2 separate regions of the Homo sapiens genome follow, and region 1 is linked to region 2. Evidence: promoter capture Hi-C in human tissues and cell types (Jung and others, 2019). All regions are on one chromosome and are shown on one strand. Each heading gives the region's core, a stretch centred on a gene start or on the middle of the fragment in contact. The rest is flanking DNA. Distances are from core to core; before and after follow the strand shown. Region 1 overlaps DIP2C (disco interacting protein 2 homolog C). Region 2 holds the start of LARP4B (La ribonucleoprotein 4B).

Evidence for each region. The method cuts DNA at HindIII sites, captures the fragments that hold promoters and counts their contacts. A contact is called where the count stands out against the background at its distance.
Region 1: a contact is called between a fragment that was not itself captured here and the fragment with the promoter of LARP4B in region 2, in 2 of the 25 tissues and cell types used here (dorsolateral prefrontal cortex and hippocampus).

Annotation. Positions count from the first base shown.
Region 1 is chr10:328,036-335,266 of GRCh38, forward strand. It overlaps DIP2C (disco interacting protein 2 homolog C), which reads right to left. Exons shown (of 37, transcript NM_014974.3): 30 at 1,398-1,566. LOC124902362 (a long non-coding RNA gene) reads right to left here. Exons shown (of 2, transcript XR_007062030.1): 2 at 6,990-7,231. Among named protein-coding and RNA genes, the nearest start is that of ZMYND11, 200 kb to the left of the region's middle. The HindIII fragment of the contact is 5,847 bases long and covers 1-5,255 here.
Region 2 is chr10:927,566-935,104 of GRCh38, forward strand. It overlaps LARP4B (La ribonucleoprotein 4B), which reads right to left and starts at 4,140. Exons shown (of 18, transcript NM_015155.3): 1 at 3,863-4,140. It overlaps LOC124902363 (keratinocyte proline-rich protein-like), which reads left to right and starts at 4,426. Exons shown (of 2, transcript XM_047426111.1): 1 at 4,426-5,550; 2 at 7,271-7,539. The coding sequence starts at 4,562. The coding sequence ends at 5,266. LARP4B-DT (LARP4B divergent transcript) reads left to right here and starts at 5,461. Exons shown (of 3, transcript NR_120629.1): 1 at 5,461-5,550. RefSeq lists silencers at 3,331-3,460, 3,551-3,630, 3,661-3,770, 3,841-4,550, 4,631-4,720. The HindIII fragment of the contact is 5,279 bases long and covers 1,195-6,473 here.

The DNA of each region.
Region 1 (7,231 bases), core at 1,082-3,581, 600 kb before region 2:
GAGCTGCTAAGGGGGCGGCCACCAAAACCCCAACCGTCAGGCCCTGCGAACCCTTTCAAGGCAGCCTCGGCACACGGACAACCGACAAGGGTCCTGAGCAAGGAGGACGCACAGCTCGAGCTGGCTTTGACATTCGTGCTCAGTGTACAGACACGACTGTACACACAGAGTTAAACAGGAAAAACTCAAGTCTGGGTGACACAAATTACATATTCACACGCGCGCACGTCTGAGAGGTAAAGCAGCATGCAGCTGCAACAGCAGGTCTGAAGCCAAAGATTCTAAATTTGGCTCCAGGTTCGTTCAGCCTAAGAACCTGGAAAGGTTGCTTAATTTCTCTATGACATAAGTTTCCTCAGCTTTAAAATGGAGACAATAAGGGCTCCTATTTCAGAGAGCTATTGTAAGGATGAAATGAATACGTAAATTGCATACTGACCCTCAACTATGTCATGATTTTATTCTGGTTATTTATATATGTGCCAACAGGAAGGTCATGAAAATGTACTCACTTTCTAATACAATATAGATGAACATGAATAGTGCTAACTTTTTCCTATATAAAAACTTAAAATGATTGCACAATTACTTATGTTACATAAAGTTATCTTGCATTTTGCTTTCCTGTCCAAGCTTTATGCATTAGGAAAACAATGCAGGACAGATAAATGTACTGTTCCGTTATTGATCTCTGTGTAGATGACAGAAACACAAACACAATCCATGTATATACAAAGACATACACACATCCAAAGAGTACAAAGTCAGTTGAAATTTTATCAAAACTGGTCAGATGATTATTCCCTCCTAGTTACTTGGAGCTAAGGACTACTTAATTTACCATGAAGATATACGTATCAAAATGTCCTTGGTTTAAATGGAGGGAAATACTATTATTCTTACATAATAGCAATTATTAAAAAATGAAACACAACACTGTTAACTGAACTGTAAAATGAATTGAGCTTAGGGTCCAGACCCAGAAATCAGGGTCTCCAGGGAAAATAAAAGTGAGCGGCTAAATTCAAACCTACCTTCTTAAACACCAGTATCAAATAAAGTTAACATCACCTAAGATCTTCTGAACACTGAACACTTCAGAACACTGAATCCACCCAACAAAAAATCAAATTTAGGATCTTTCAAGTAGACCCAGTGGAATGACAGGCATTGAAAATATTTTACATTCTGGTTCGTTACTGTCTGTGGTCGTGGGGAAATATTCACGTTAAAAAGATTTTCATATAAAGGCAGTTTGTAAGCTTCAGGTGACGTTAGATTAAACCCAGGCTTTGTTTTGGAGGACTGTTTTAACTTCACCCCATCACAGATGTGCCTTCTTAGAAAGGAGTCCCTGTGGGCTCACAGGGCACTGAGCTGCCAAGGGAGCTGCTTACCTTGAGGGACTCTGTTTGCGAGCCCAGCCCCTTGGTGCACAGCTCCATCACGGAGTAGGAGCAAAACGTGTCTCGGACTTTGTACTGACTCACGGCAAGAAGCCACAAGGCGGGGTTGGTTTCCAGCTCAGAGGGCGGGATCAGGATGGACTGGTGCCCAGAATACACACTGCAGAGAAAGAAGAGGCTGTCAGGGCGGGAGCTCAGCAAGGCTGGAGCTCAGCAAGGCTGGAGGGCTCAGGGCAGCACTGACTCCAAGGAAAAGGAGGACTTGGAACAGCCCGTGCTGCCATCTGTAGAAGGGCACAGTAAAGCCAACGCTGCAAACTGCAACCATGTTCACGAAAGCCTTCTGAAAAGCAAATACGTACTACAGAATCATGGGGCAGTTCCTACCACTTTGAACACACATTTAAGACTACTAAACGCTGTGATGCTGTGATGTCTCTCAGACCTGCGACATCAGCAAACTGGATCCTCTTTCTTAGTAGAAAACACAGGGATCAAATTTCGGTTTAAAAAAAAAAAGTCCAGCTTCAGAACAGGAGCTGGCAAACCACAGACACTTCCTGTTTTTGTAAATAAAGTTTTATTGGAACAGGGCCACCACCACTCATTTGTTTAAATATTGTCTCCAGTGGCTTTGAGCTGAGTGGTCAGAGACCACAGAACCTAAAATATTTACCAAACAGCAATTTAATAAAGAGCAGGCCTATACCTGGTTTAGAAAACTGACAGCCAGGGTGAAAAAAAGACAATTATGGTAATTAAAGTTAGTCACTCAATCTTTTTAAGATCAGATTTTTACTAAAAAGGATCCCAACGAATTACCAAACAGAAGAAATAGAGAAAAATAACGATTCTTTAATTTTACCTTCATACTAGAGAACAGATTTAGAGAAATGAAAAAGTGATAGATTACATATTTTATCAATTGATGGGGTAAGTGTGGATTTAACAACTTGTCAAAACTACATTTTTAATGGTTTTAATTTTGTTTACTACTATGAATTCACAATAGATACCATACATTAAAATAAAATATCCTAGATAAATCACGTTCTAAGATTTACAATTTAATTAACGGGAACGTTCTGTTGCCCAGGCTAGAGTAGGGTGGTGTAATCATAGCTACCTGTCACCTCAAACTCCTGGGCTCCAGCAATTCTCCTGCCTCTCCTGAGTCAGTAGGACCACAGGTGTGCACCACCATGCTTGTTTTTTTTTTTTTTCAGTGGTAGGGTCTATGTTGCCTAGGCTCATCTTGAACTTCGGGGCTCAAGCAATCCTCTCTTGTTCCTGCTGTGGCCATGTAAGATGTGCCTGGCCTCCCAAAGTGTTGGGATTACAGGCATGAGCCACCATGCCCAACCTACACAATTTTTTTTTTTTTTTTTTGAGACAGGGTCTCACTCTGTCACCCAGACTGGAGTGCAGTGGTGTGATCTGGGTTCATTATAACCTCTGCCTTTCAAGCTGAGGCCATCCTCCCACCTCAGTCCCTGAGTAGCTGGGACTACAGATGCACAACACTATGCCTGGCTAATTTTTTTTTTTTTTTTTTTTGTAGATACGGTTTCGTATTGTTGCCCAGGCTGGTCTCAAACTCCTGGCTTCAAGTACTCCTCCTATCTTAGCCTCCCAAAGTGCTAGGATTATAGGCATGAGCTGCCATAAGAGGCCTACGCAAAATTTTATCAGTGAAACAGCACTATGATTAACGAGTTAGGCCTTGTTAACTACTATGCTATAATACTAAAGCCAGTTCTTTAATGTAGCCAATCTCATCTAAAAATTTTCATAATTGTTTATAAGAGAATCCAACTAAAGAAATGTAAGGAAGTTAGGTTGGCTAACAAAATTTATTTCAAACGGGACCCTTAGTATGAAAAACTACTCTTCGGCAAATGTGACAAAGGCGTTTTTGGGCAATTTTCCATTTCTTTCCTCATTCTTATTCCAAAGCTTGATTTATTCTTTTCAAAAGGACACATAGCCCTCTGTGTCTGTGGGTTCCTCACCCCTGGCTTCAACCATGAATCAAAGATATTCATGAAAAAATCTGCATCTATACCTAACTTGTAGATTTTCTTATCATTAGTGACTAAACAACATAGTACAACTATTCACACAGCATTTACATTGTGTTAGGTATTACAAGTAATCCAGAAATTATTTAAAACATGAGAGAGGAAGTGCATAGGTGATGTGCTCGTATGATGCCATTTTATATCAGGGACTTGAGCATCCTCGCTCTTTGCTTTCTGCAGTGGTCCCGGAACCTATCTCCTCCGTGGACACCGAGGGACGACTTTCTAGCAAATAGTGACCTTTCCAAGGGTTTAATACTTTGAGAACAGGGTTAGGCACATAAGGGGTGAATATCAGGCCTCGAATTTTTACTCTGCTGTAAACTGGCCATTTCATCTTAGTTTTAAAAATTTTACTGTGGTAAAACATATGTAACATAACATTTACCATATTAACCACTTCTTTTCTTTTTTTCTGAGACAGAGTCTTACTTTGTCACCCAGGCTAGAGTGCAGTGGTGTGATCACAGCTCACTGTAGCCCTGACCTCATGGGCTCAAGTGATCCTCCCACTTCCCAAGTATCTGGGACTAGAGGCACGTACCACCATGACTGGGACTAGAGACTAGAGGCACATACCACCATGACTGGCTAACTTAAAACTTTTTTTGTGGAGATGGGGTCTCACTATGTTGCCCAAGCTGGTCTTGAACGCCTAGGTTCAAGCAATCCTCCTGCCTCGGACACCCAAAGTCATTTTAACCATTTCTAAGTGTCCCTGGAAGTGGCTTCCTCAAAAATACACATCAGCATTAATGATTTGCTCTGTCAGAATTGTCAGCACACAACGGGCTTGGGAACCCAGTGTGAATTCCTGGCCAGAGAATTTCAAATATACTTGTGAAAACTAAATATAGTTTCACCTCCCTCCTCATCACCATAAATAAGAAATCAACATTAAGAAAACACAAATCTTGACAGCAGAAACAAATAGAAAACCCAACTCATGATTTCCTAATTGCCCTTACCTCACTCAATACAGCAAATTTTGATTAATTGCTGTATTAGCCAAAATTGATTTTTGGCACTGGCAATAAATTCTGCTATGGACAAGACAAACCTACTTAAGAGCAGGTTGCTTATTCTCAAGACATTATTCTCTGAGAATGTTGGGAACCTGAGCTGTTCTTCAGATCTTAACTTCAAAAAGAATAAAAATAGACATTTTGGTAAGTAATACACATTCGCACATTAGCAATTTGATGATTTCAGATTACTAACCTGACAAAATATACCAACAACTGAAAACTCTCCTAACTTGGGAATTCAACAAGACAGGTTCATCTCACCTGGGGGTCCTGGGTCATACCCTGTCTGCCAGCAGGCATGCCATCCAGCCCAGGGTCTCCCTACACACTTGAGTTACTGCAATGAAGCACTTTATTATTTTTTATTGTTGAGACAGAGTCTCACTCCGTCGCCCAGGTTGGAGTGCAGTGGTGCATTCTTGGCTCAATGCAACCTCTGCCTCCTGGGTTCAAGTGATTCTCCTGCCTCATGCTCCTGAGTAGCTGGGATGACAGGCGTGTGCCACCACGCCAGGCTAATTTTTGTATTTTTAGCAGAGACGAGGTTTCATCATGTTGGCCAGGCTGGTCTCAAACTCCTGACCTCAAGTGATCCACCCACCTCAGCCTCCCAAAGTGCTGGGATTACCTGCATGAGCCACCGCACCCGGCCTATTCTTTTTAAAACACCCGTCGGCTTTATTTAGGTATACTTTGCATACCCTAAGTTTCACTCATTTTAAGCACAGAATGGCTTTTAATAAAATTGAAGAGTTGTAAAATGGTCACTACTCTAGAACATTCCCATCACCTGAAAGGGATCCCGTGTCCATCTGCAGTCAGTCCCATTTCCAGCCCTAGCCCCAGTCATCATTCTACTTTGTTTACAAATTTGCCTTTTCTGGACACTGCCTACCACACAGCCACACTTCCCTCCCTCAGCAGGTGCTTCTGAGCTCATCCTGTGCAGAAGCACCCACCATGTGGACGTGGCAGGCGTCACCTGTTCAGTCACCTGCTAGCGGATACCTGGATTGTTTCCTTGTGTTGACCGAGGTTCCAGGGAACTTACACCAAGTCTCTGAGTGGATGTTCGCTTTCCTTTCTCCTAGGAGTGCAGCTGCTGAGTCAATGCAGCAAGTCTGCTTAATTAAGATCATGCCAAACAGTGGCTTCCCCATTTTACATTCCCACTATCAATGTATGAGAATTCGTTTTTCCACCTTCTTGGTTACTGTTGCTTTGCAGTGTAAGTTTTGAAGTCAGAAAACACGAGCTCTCCAACTTTATTTCCTGTGTTTTCGGTGACAGCATTCTAGTGGGTGTGAAGTGGTATCTCACTGTGGTTTTAATTTGCATTTCCCTAATTAACGCTAGGTATCTTTTCACGTCCTTATTGGCCATTTGTATGTCTTCTTCTGGTGAGATATCTATTCAGATCTCTTGCCCGTGTTTATGTTGCTTGTTTCTGAGTTTTGAGTGTTTATTACATAGGCTGGGTGCAGTGGCTCACGCCTGTAATCCCAGCACTTTGGGAGGCTGAAGCGGGCAGATTACTTGAGGTAAGGAGTTCAAGACCAGCCTGGCCAACATGGCAAAACACTGTCTCTACTAAAAATACAAAAAAAATAGCCAGGTGTGGTGGTGCATGCCTGTACTTCCAGCTACTTGGGAGGCTGAGGCAGGAGAATCACTTGAACCTTGGAGGCAGAGGTGGCAGTAAGCTGAGATCAAGCTACTGCACTCCAGCCCGGGTGACAGAGCAAGACTGTCTCAAAAAAAAAAAAAAAAAAAAAGAAAAAATTTATTACATAGGTGCTTAGAAGTGCTTCATGAGATTTATAATTTGCAAATATTTTTTCCCAGACTGTGGCTTGTCTTTCTACTTAATTCTGTCTTTTGATATACAAAAGTTTTAAATTTTGTTCCAGTCCAGTTTATCAGTATTTATGTAGTATACCTTTGATGAACTCTGTGCCTAACCAAGATTATGAAAATTTACTCCTGTGTTTTCTAAAATTTTTATAATTTTTGCTCTTACATTAAGATCTATGATCCACTTGAACTAACTTAGGTATATGACGTTGAGTCAAGGTTTAATCTTTTTTCCTTTTCATGTGAATGTCCGAATTTCCCAGCATCTGTTGTTGGAAAAACTTTTCTTCATTGAATTGCTCGGGTAACTCTATTAAAAAATTATTTGACCATAAATATAAGGGTTTATTTCTGGACTCTCAATTCTGTTTCTCATATATATAATCACTCTATCTCAATGCCAGTACATTGTTCTGGTTATTGCAGCTTTGCAATATTTTTGAAATCAGGAATGAGAAGTTCTGAATTCTCCAATTTTGTTAACCTATTTTAAAACTGCTTTCACTATTGTGGGTCCTTTATATTTACTTCAGGATATTATCAATTTCTGCCCCAAAAAACCCCCAAAAAATAGCCTGCCAAGATTTTGGTAGGAATTACATTGAACCTATAAAGCAATGTGGGGAGAACTACCATTTTAATAATATTGAATCTTCCAATACATGAATACAGGCTATCTGACACAATTTTTAAAAACAGGTGTAATCTTAAAAAATATTTTGAAACAATACCATTATACTCATATGTCTCAGATAAACAATCCTCTATGACAGAAGAAAGCTTTAGGATGAGGACACAAATTATTTGTGTTACTTAACTTTCAAACAATCACAAAGTTATAGAAAATGTACAAGTACGTTTA
Region 2 (7,539 bases), core at 2,890-5,389:
ACTAAACTCAGACCTGATGAGGTTAACTCTCTGAGTGCCTCATTTACTTCGTACTCTAAAATAAGCTTTTACAGAAAAAGGAGAACTCTTCACATCAATAAAGTTCTACAAAAGAGCATAAGCAAGGAAACCCTTACAGCAGTGTCTGTTTTTAACAAGGTATTTTCCAAAAACATGACTTCAGTGTTCATGTCTTCTCCCCATTGGAAAAAGGTTGTTTTGAGAATTTTGTAGAAGAAATTACAAGAATATACTCCAAGATTTTTGTGCAATTTATCAATCTGAAAAGAATATCCCTAAATCTGACAGAATCTATAAGAGTACTGTATGCATGATAAAAGCATATTTAAAACTTGTACCTTTGGCCAGGTACGCCGTGGCTCACGCCTGCAATCCCAGCACTTTGGGAGGCCGAGGCGGGCGAATCACCTGCGGTCAGGAGTTCAAGACCAGCCTGGCCAACATGGTGAAATCCCAACTCTACTAAAAATACAAAAAAAAAAAAAATTAGCCAGGTGTGGTGGAGGGCACCTGTAATCCCAGCTACTCGGGAGGCTGAGGCAGGAGAATCACCTGAACCCGAGAGGCGGAGGATGCAGTGAGCCAAGAACGCACCATTGCACTCCAGCTTGGGCGACAAGAGTGAAAGTCCGCCTCAGGAAAGAAAAAAAAAAAAAAACTTGTACCTTTAACACTAGGATAAAAACAAATGAAATCGATTGATGGTAACACATCTATACAGCTTTTTTACAACTTTGAGAGGCCCTAACATAGACAACACGTTACTAAGATTAGAAGACCTAGATTATAATCCTAGCTATCACTATTTTGACGGAAAATATGAATTTTAACATGACAATGAAATAACAGTGAAAGGAGTTTGTCAGCCACTCCTTGGCTGGTAACATCTACCATAGCCTATCACTACAAAAACTTGCAAATCTATGTAGAGTAGCTGCAGCTACCTGAAGGCACTGTTCATTGTAAACACCATTAACAATTTGATGTCCCAATTTGCATGTTTTGGGGGTGGGGGGAGACAAGGTCTCACTGTTGTCCAGGATGGAGTGCAGTGGCAGGATCATGGCTCACTGCAGCCTCAACCTCCCAAGCTCAAGCGATCTTCCCACTTCAGCTTCTCCAACAGCTGGACTACAGGTGTGAGCCACCATGCCTGGCTAATTTTTTGATTTTTTGGTAGAGATGAGGTCTCTCTATGTTGCCCAGGCTGGTGAACTCCTGGGCTCCTAAACTCACCTAGGCCTCCCAAAGTGCTGGGATTACAGGAATGAGCCACCTCACCCAGCCTGCACGTATTTTAGAACTACATTTTAAGATAATGTGAAGACTGCTTCATAAAAACACCTTAAATATATACTTGTCAAAACTTGTGCTTACTTATGGAAATTGCATTAAATTCAATAAATTCTTTAAATCTCACTTTTAAAAATGGCAATCTTCCCGAACATTAAACCAAATTACATTTCTCCCTGAATTTGCTGCCACTTAATTTCAGCTACTCTTCTACAGAATAGTACCCATGTTATCTTTTTTTCTGTCTGGTTCCTACTCAAAAAGAGTGGAACTGCTTTCTCCAAATATGCATTCTGTGCTCAGAAGCTGTTTTCTCTGCCCAGATACATGTGTAAACAAGCCAAAAAAAACAAAACAAAAAAACAAAAACAAAAACAAAACTTTCTGCTAATAGATTGACAGCTACAAGGTAGAATATTTTAAAAATTCAGTAAGCTGGGCGCAGTGGCTCACTCCTGTAATCCCAACACTTTGAGAGGCCAAGGCAGGTGGATCACTTGAGGCCAGGAGTTCGAGACCAGCCTGGGCAACATGCTGAAACCCCGTCTCTACTAAAAATACAAAAATTAGCCAGGTGTGGTGGCATGTGCCTGTAAATCCCAGCTACTCGGGGGGCTGAGGCAGGAGAATAACTTGAAGACCTAGGAGGTGGAGGTTGTAGTGAGTTGAGATCGTGTCACTGCACTCCATCCTGGGTGACAGAACAAGACTCCAACTCGGGGGGGGAAGAAAAAAATCAGTAATAGTGAAAATAGCAAAACCAGACAACATTTCCATGTTTGTGTTACAACAGTCCTAAGAAAATGAGATTATCATCATCCCCCTGTTACAATTGAGAAAATGTAGGCAACACGAGGGTAACTTCTAATGAATAAGCCATGCCTTTGTTTCATATAAATAAGTCAACTCAACTCACATTAACTTTTCAAAATACCGGATAAAATTTATTTCTAACCAATGCAAGTTTCAAAGATAAGTACACAAATTAAATTTATGATTAAATAATAAGCTTGTTAATCTGATGCCTTTCGGAACGCATTTCACTTAGCAAACCTCAATTAAGCTATTTCTTATATGGTTTGATTACAAAACTGCCTTTCAGCATATTAAATACAAGGAGAAAAAACTGAAAAGCCACAACGATTTCAACTTCTGTAAATTACCCTGACTGTAATGAGGGGCGCCAGGCAGGTTGGGGAAGTATGGAAATTGCACACTGCACACACCACCTGACCACCAAGAAAAAAGAGGACACCACTCTTCCCCACTGTGGTCTTCACAAACTACAACTCAGCACCTATTTCAAGTGCATTTAAATATTCAAACAACTGAAACTAAGAGAAAAAAACTTTCGAAAGGGAAAATAACTTGTCTGTCCCCTTCAATGTTCACCTTGGAGTTGCTCTCATCTCTAGAAAAAGGCCTCACGCATACTGTTTATACTTACAAACTCCACTGCCCTGTCAAGGAAAACCTTCCTGTTTTCTCAGTTATCCAAAACTTCAAACTTCCAATTTACTATTAAGACAAGTTATTGGGCATCCACTTAGAGAATCTCAAACGAAAGCCAGATAGGAGGTAGTTTTCTACAGCTAGGTTTCTCAAGTTTCATCTCAGCCAAGTTTTAAGAACGTTTTACGTAAAAATAAGGGGAAAAGCAAAATTACATTCGCATGAAGTTTCGACGCACAACGGCACTGAAACGGAAAGACTCTTCACGTTCCCAAGCGCACCCTGAGAGGCAGGTGCAGCAGCTTTCCGATGGCTTCTCTGCCGCCCATGTATCCCAGCCCCAAGACCAACACAGGCAATCTTCACATCTGACTTTATTTTTTTAACTCCTTCAGATCCACCTCTGCTCAAGTCTATCAACAGGAAAACAGGAGCGTTCCAAACACACACCGAGCAACAGGATCCCAACTTCCTGGTTCTAAAGGAATGCGATGCCCTGATGACCCGTCCCGCCCCGCACCCGCACGGCCGCCTATCCGGGCTCCGGCGGGACCGAGGAGCGAGTGGCAAGGCTGGCGCCGCACTGCGGGTGCCGGCGCCCGCCCGGCCTGGGGGCGCTCGCGGCCCGCGACCCCGGCCCCGCCCAGGCCCTGCCCGACCCCCGTCCTCGCCGGCCTTCGCCCAACCCCGGCCTCCCGACCCTGACCCCGGCCCGGTCTTCCGGGCACCCAGCTCCGTCGACTCCCGCCTCGCCTCAACGGGTCCTCCTAAGCCCCGGCCCCGGCCTTCCCCTGCCCCGGCCTCGGCCATCCTCAGCCCCAGTTTTCCCCTGCCCCGGCCCCGGTCCTCCTCAGCCCCGGCTTTTTCCTGGCCCTGACCCCGGTCCTCCTCAGCCCTGGCCCTTCCCGTGCCCTAGCCCCGGTCCTCCTCAACCCGGCCCCGGCCTTCCCCTGCCCCGGCCCCGGCCCCGGCCCAGGCCCGGCCCTGCCCGCCGCGGCCGCGTCCTCCGGGAAGATGGCGGCGCAGTGACAGGCGGCGCGGCGCGGGTCCGAGCTGGGCCGGGAGGGACGGCCCGCCGCGGCCCAGGGTGCCTCACCTGTCAGCGCCGCCGCCCCGCCCGACCGGCCGCCCGCGGGCTCCTCGCCTCAACCCCGGGGCCCGGCGGCCGCGCCACACGCGGGGACGGCGAGGAGAGAGACGGCAGGGAGAGGCGGCGCGGCCGGGCCGGGCCGGGCCGGAGGTAGGGGAGAGGGCGGGCGCGAGCTGGCGGCGGCGGCGGCGGCGGATTCTTCCCCTTTCGGGCCCGAAAATGTCTCAACCCCGGGACTCCAGATCCCCAACGCTCCTTCCCGTTCGCATGAGAACACACAGCTCCCACTTCCGGGGCCCTGCGGAAGTCCCGCCCCCGCGCGGACCCGCGCCTCGCGCCCTGAACTCGCGCACTCACCCGCCGGTCCCGCGGACTGGCGCTCAGCCCCGGGAGAGCCTCACGTCATGGTGTTGCGGCGCGCTGATTGGGCGCACCCGACGCTCGGCCCGCCCCGCCGCCTTCTTGGCCTCTCCGCGCGTACACCCTGCTCGCGGCCTTGCGATTGGCGCGTGCGCGCACATCGCCCCGCCCCGCGCACGCCGCACGTCCGCCCCGCCCGCCCCGCCCGCCCCGCCCGCCGTCCCCGGCGCGACCGGAGCGCCTGACGCTGGGGGGCCGTGTGGGCCCTGACTTCCGGAGGGCTGGGCCCTGGTCCTCCGCCACCGCGTGCGCCCCTTAAAGACCCCTGCCCGCCGCCCAGGACGGATGGCGACCCCGGCCCTAGCCTGTCCCCAGACCCTGGACCAAGGCCCCGGCCCTGCCCCGAACCCCTCATCCCACCCCCAGGACCCAGGCCCCGACCCTGGCCACCCAGGACACGCCCTGGCCCTTCCCCGAACTCCCACCCCACAGCTGGGATCAAGGTCCCGGCCCTGCCCGGAACACCTCACCCCACACCCGGGACCCAGGCCCCGGCCCTGCCCCGAACTCCCACCCCACACCCGGGACCAAGGCCCCGGCCCTGCCCCGAACCCCTCACCCCACCCCCGGGACCAAGGCCCCGGCCCTGCCCAGAACTCCCACCCCACACCCGGGACCAAGGCCCCGGCCCTGCCCAGAACTCCCACCCCACACCCGGGACCAAGGCCCCGGCCCTGCCCCGAAGGCCCCACCGGGGACCCAGGCCCCGGCCCTGCCCCAAACTCCCACCCCACACCCGGGACCAAGGCCCCGGCCCTGCCCCGAACGCCCCACCCGGGACCCAGGCCCCGGCCCTGCCCCAAACTCCCACCCCACACCCGGGACCAAGGCCCCGGCACTGCCCCGAACGCCCCACCAGGGACCCAGGCCCCAGCCCTGTCCCGAACTCCCGCCCCACACCTGAGACGAAGGTCCCGGCCCCGAAGTCCCAACCCCACACCCGGGACCAAGGCCCCGGCACTGCCCCGAACCCCCGCCCCACACCCCTAACCAAGGCCTCGGCTCAGCCCCGGAATCCCCAACCCCACACCTGGGATCAAGGCCCCGGCCCTTCCCCAAACCCCCAACCCACACCCGGGACCAAAAGGCCCCGGCCCCACGTTTCCTAGAGGCGCTGGGTTCGGGCCCACGTTGCAACGAGTCAGATGCTCTTGGTAGCTCAGGGAGGTGTTCACACTCCTGCCGTTTCCGTGAGGATGGTGACGACTCCGAACTATAGCAGCATACTCTACCTACCCCTGATCAGTTTATGGAAGAAAAGGAAACCAAACAAAGTATGTTGCGTTTCCCTTAAGCTTGCTGCCTGATTTTCTGGTTTCTGCTCTGATTGGCTACATATACACATATTATCAATTATTCCAAATTTTAGGTTTGTTCCCCCATTAAAACGGCTTTTCAGGGATACCATATTCATGGTTAACCGTGTACCTGTGCTTACAACTGCTTTTTTAATTTTGTTTTTTGATACAGGGTCTTGCTCTATGCAGGTCTGCACTCTGAGCTCAGAGTGCTGTCTCGGGCCCCCAAAATCTGGGATTAGAGATGGGAGCCGGTGTACCCAGCCTGTGCTTATAATTTTTCGTACTCAGCGTTCAAATGCTGACAATTCTGCATTTTGGAAGAAAGCCTCTCCGGCTTCCCATAGTGGGTAGACTGTTGACATCAAGGTTGGGTGCCTTCTTTGTGAAACCTTGTTGCATCCTAGCTTTAAGGGAATTTGCAAGTTAAATAATTATATTCATAGTAATGTTTTTAAAGAACATTTAACGACATAAGACACATTTCCTTTAATATTAAAAGCATGTACATATTTCAGAAAACTTGCTTACCTGGACAACCTGCCCTGACCAGTAGGCCATAGTGTCCTTGCTTAGGTGCCTGGTTCCTTTACCTCCACGGATAACCTACAGGAGCTTACTCTTGGTTCATAACATTGCTAGGGCCATTGATGTGGTATAAGTCTAGGAATTCTGCCCCAAAATTGGTAGGTTAAACTTTTTTTTTTTTTTGAGACTGACTCTCCCTCTGTCACCCCGGCTGGAGTGCCGTGGCATAATCTCGGCTCACTGCAACCTCAGTCTCCCGGGTTCAAGTGATTCTCCTGCCTCAGCCTCCGGAGTAGCTGAGACTACAGCCGCATGCCACCACGCCCAGCTAATTTTTTGTATTTTTAGTAGAGATGGGGTTTCACCGTGTTAGCCAGAATGGTCTTGATCTCCTGACCTCGTGATCCGCCTGCCTCAGCCTCCCTAAGTGCTGGGATTACAGGCGTGAGCCACCGTTCCCGGCTGGTAGGTTAAACTTCAATCTTTTTTGTCTATGTCTACATTCCAGCAGACATCTATGTCTTACCTATTACAAAAGAAAGTAATGGGATGGGTTCAGTGGCTCATGCCTGTAATCCCAGCACTTTAGGAGGCCAAGGCAGGCAGATCGCCCAAGGCCAAGAGTTCAAGACCAGTCTGGGCAATATGTCAAAGCCCCATTTCTTTAAAAAATTATACAAAAGTAGCCGGGCATGTGGTGCATGGCTGTGGTTCCAGCTACTCAGGAGGCTGAGGTGGGAGGATCGCTTGAGGTTGAGGCTGCAGTGAGCTGTGATTGTGCCACCGCATTCCAGCCTGGGTGACAGAGCGAGACCCTGTCTCAAAAAAAGAAAAAGAAAAAAACTAAAACTAAAAGAATTCCATCTCTTCTTTCTCTTCGTATTGTGTAATCCTTTCCAACAATCAGAACTGGGCTTTTTGTTCCCTCATGATCTTCTTTTTTTCAAACCTGTGTCTCAGAAGAAACATCCATTTTCACCTTGAGATGTGAGGTTATAACATGAAATACATTTTCATGGCATCTCTCCTTAGACAAGATCAGTTTTTTAAAACTTTAGTATAAATTTCTCAAACCATGATCAGATACACTCCCTCATTTCCCATGTCAAGTGGTTACAAATTCTGTCAATCCTACCTAAAAACTCTTTCCTTCTCCCCGTCCCCCCAGTGGTTTTGCCGTTGTTACTGCTCACCTGGTTTGATTCAGTGGCGTCGCGGTTGGTCTCTGCTACAGTCCATTACTCACAGTGCCAGCACATGTTTCCTTAAAAAGCTTCATCACCATCCTCCTGCAATGCGACCTTCACCGGCTCCCCGTTGCCTGCCCAGGAGGATAAAGTCCAAGTTCTCCTGTGGAAAGAAGACCCTTCACACGCTAGTCCCAGCCTGTCTTCAGCCCAGCCCCCTGTGTTTCCTTTCCTGCCTTATCCTAAGACA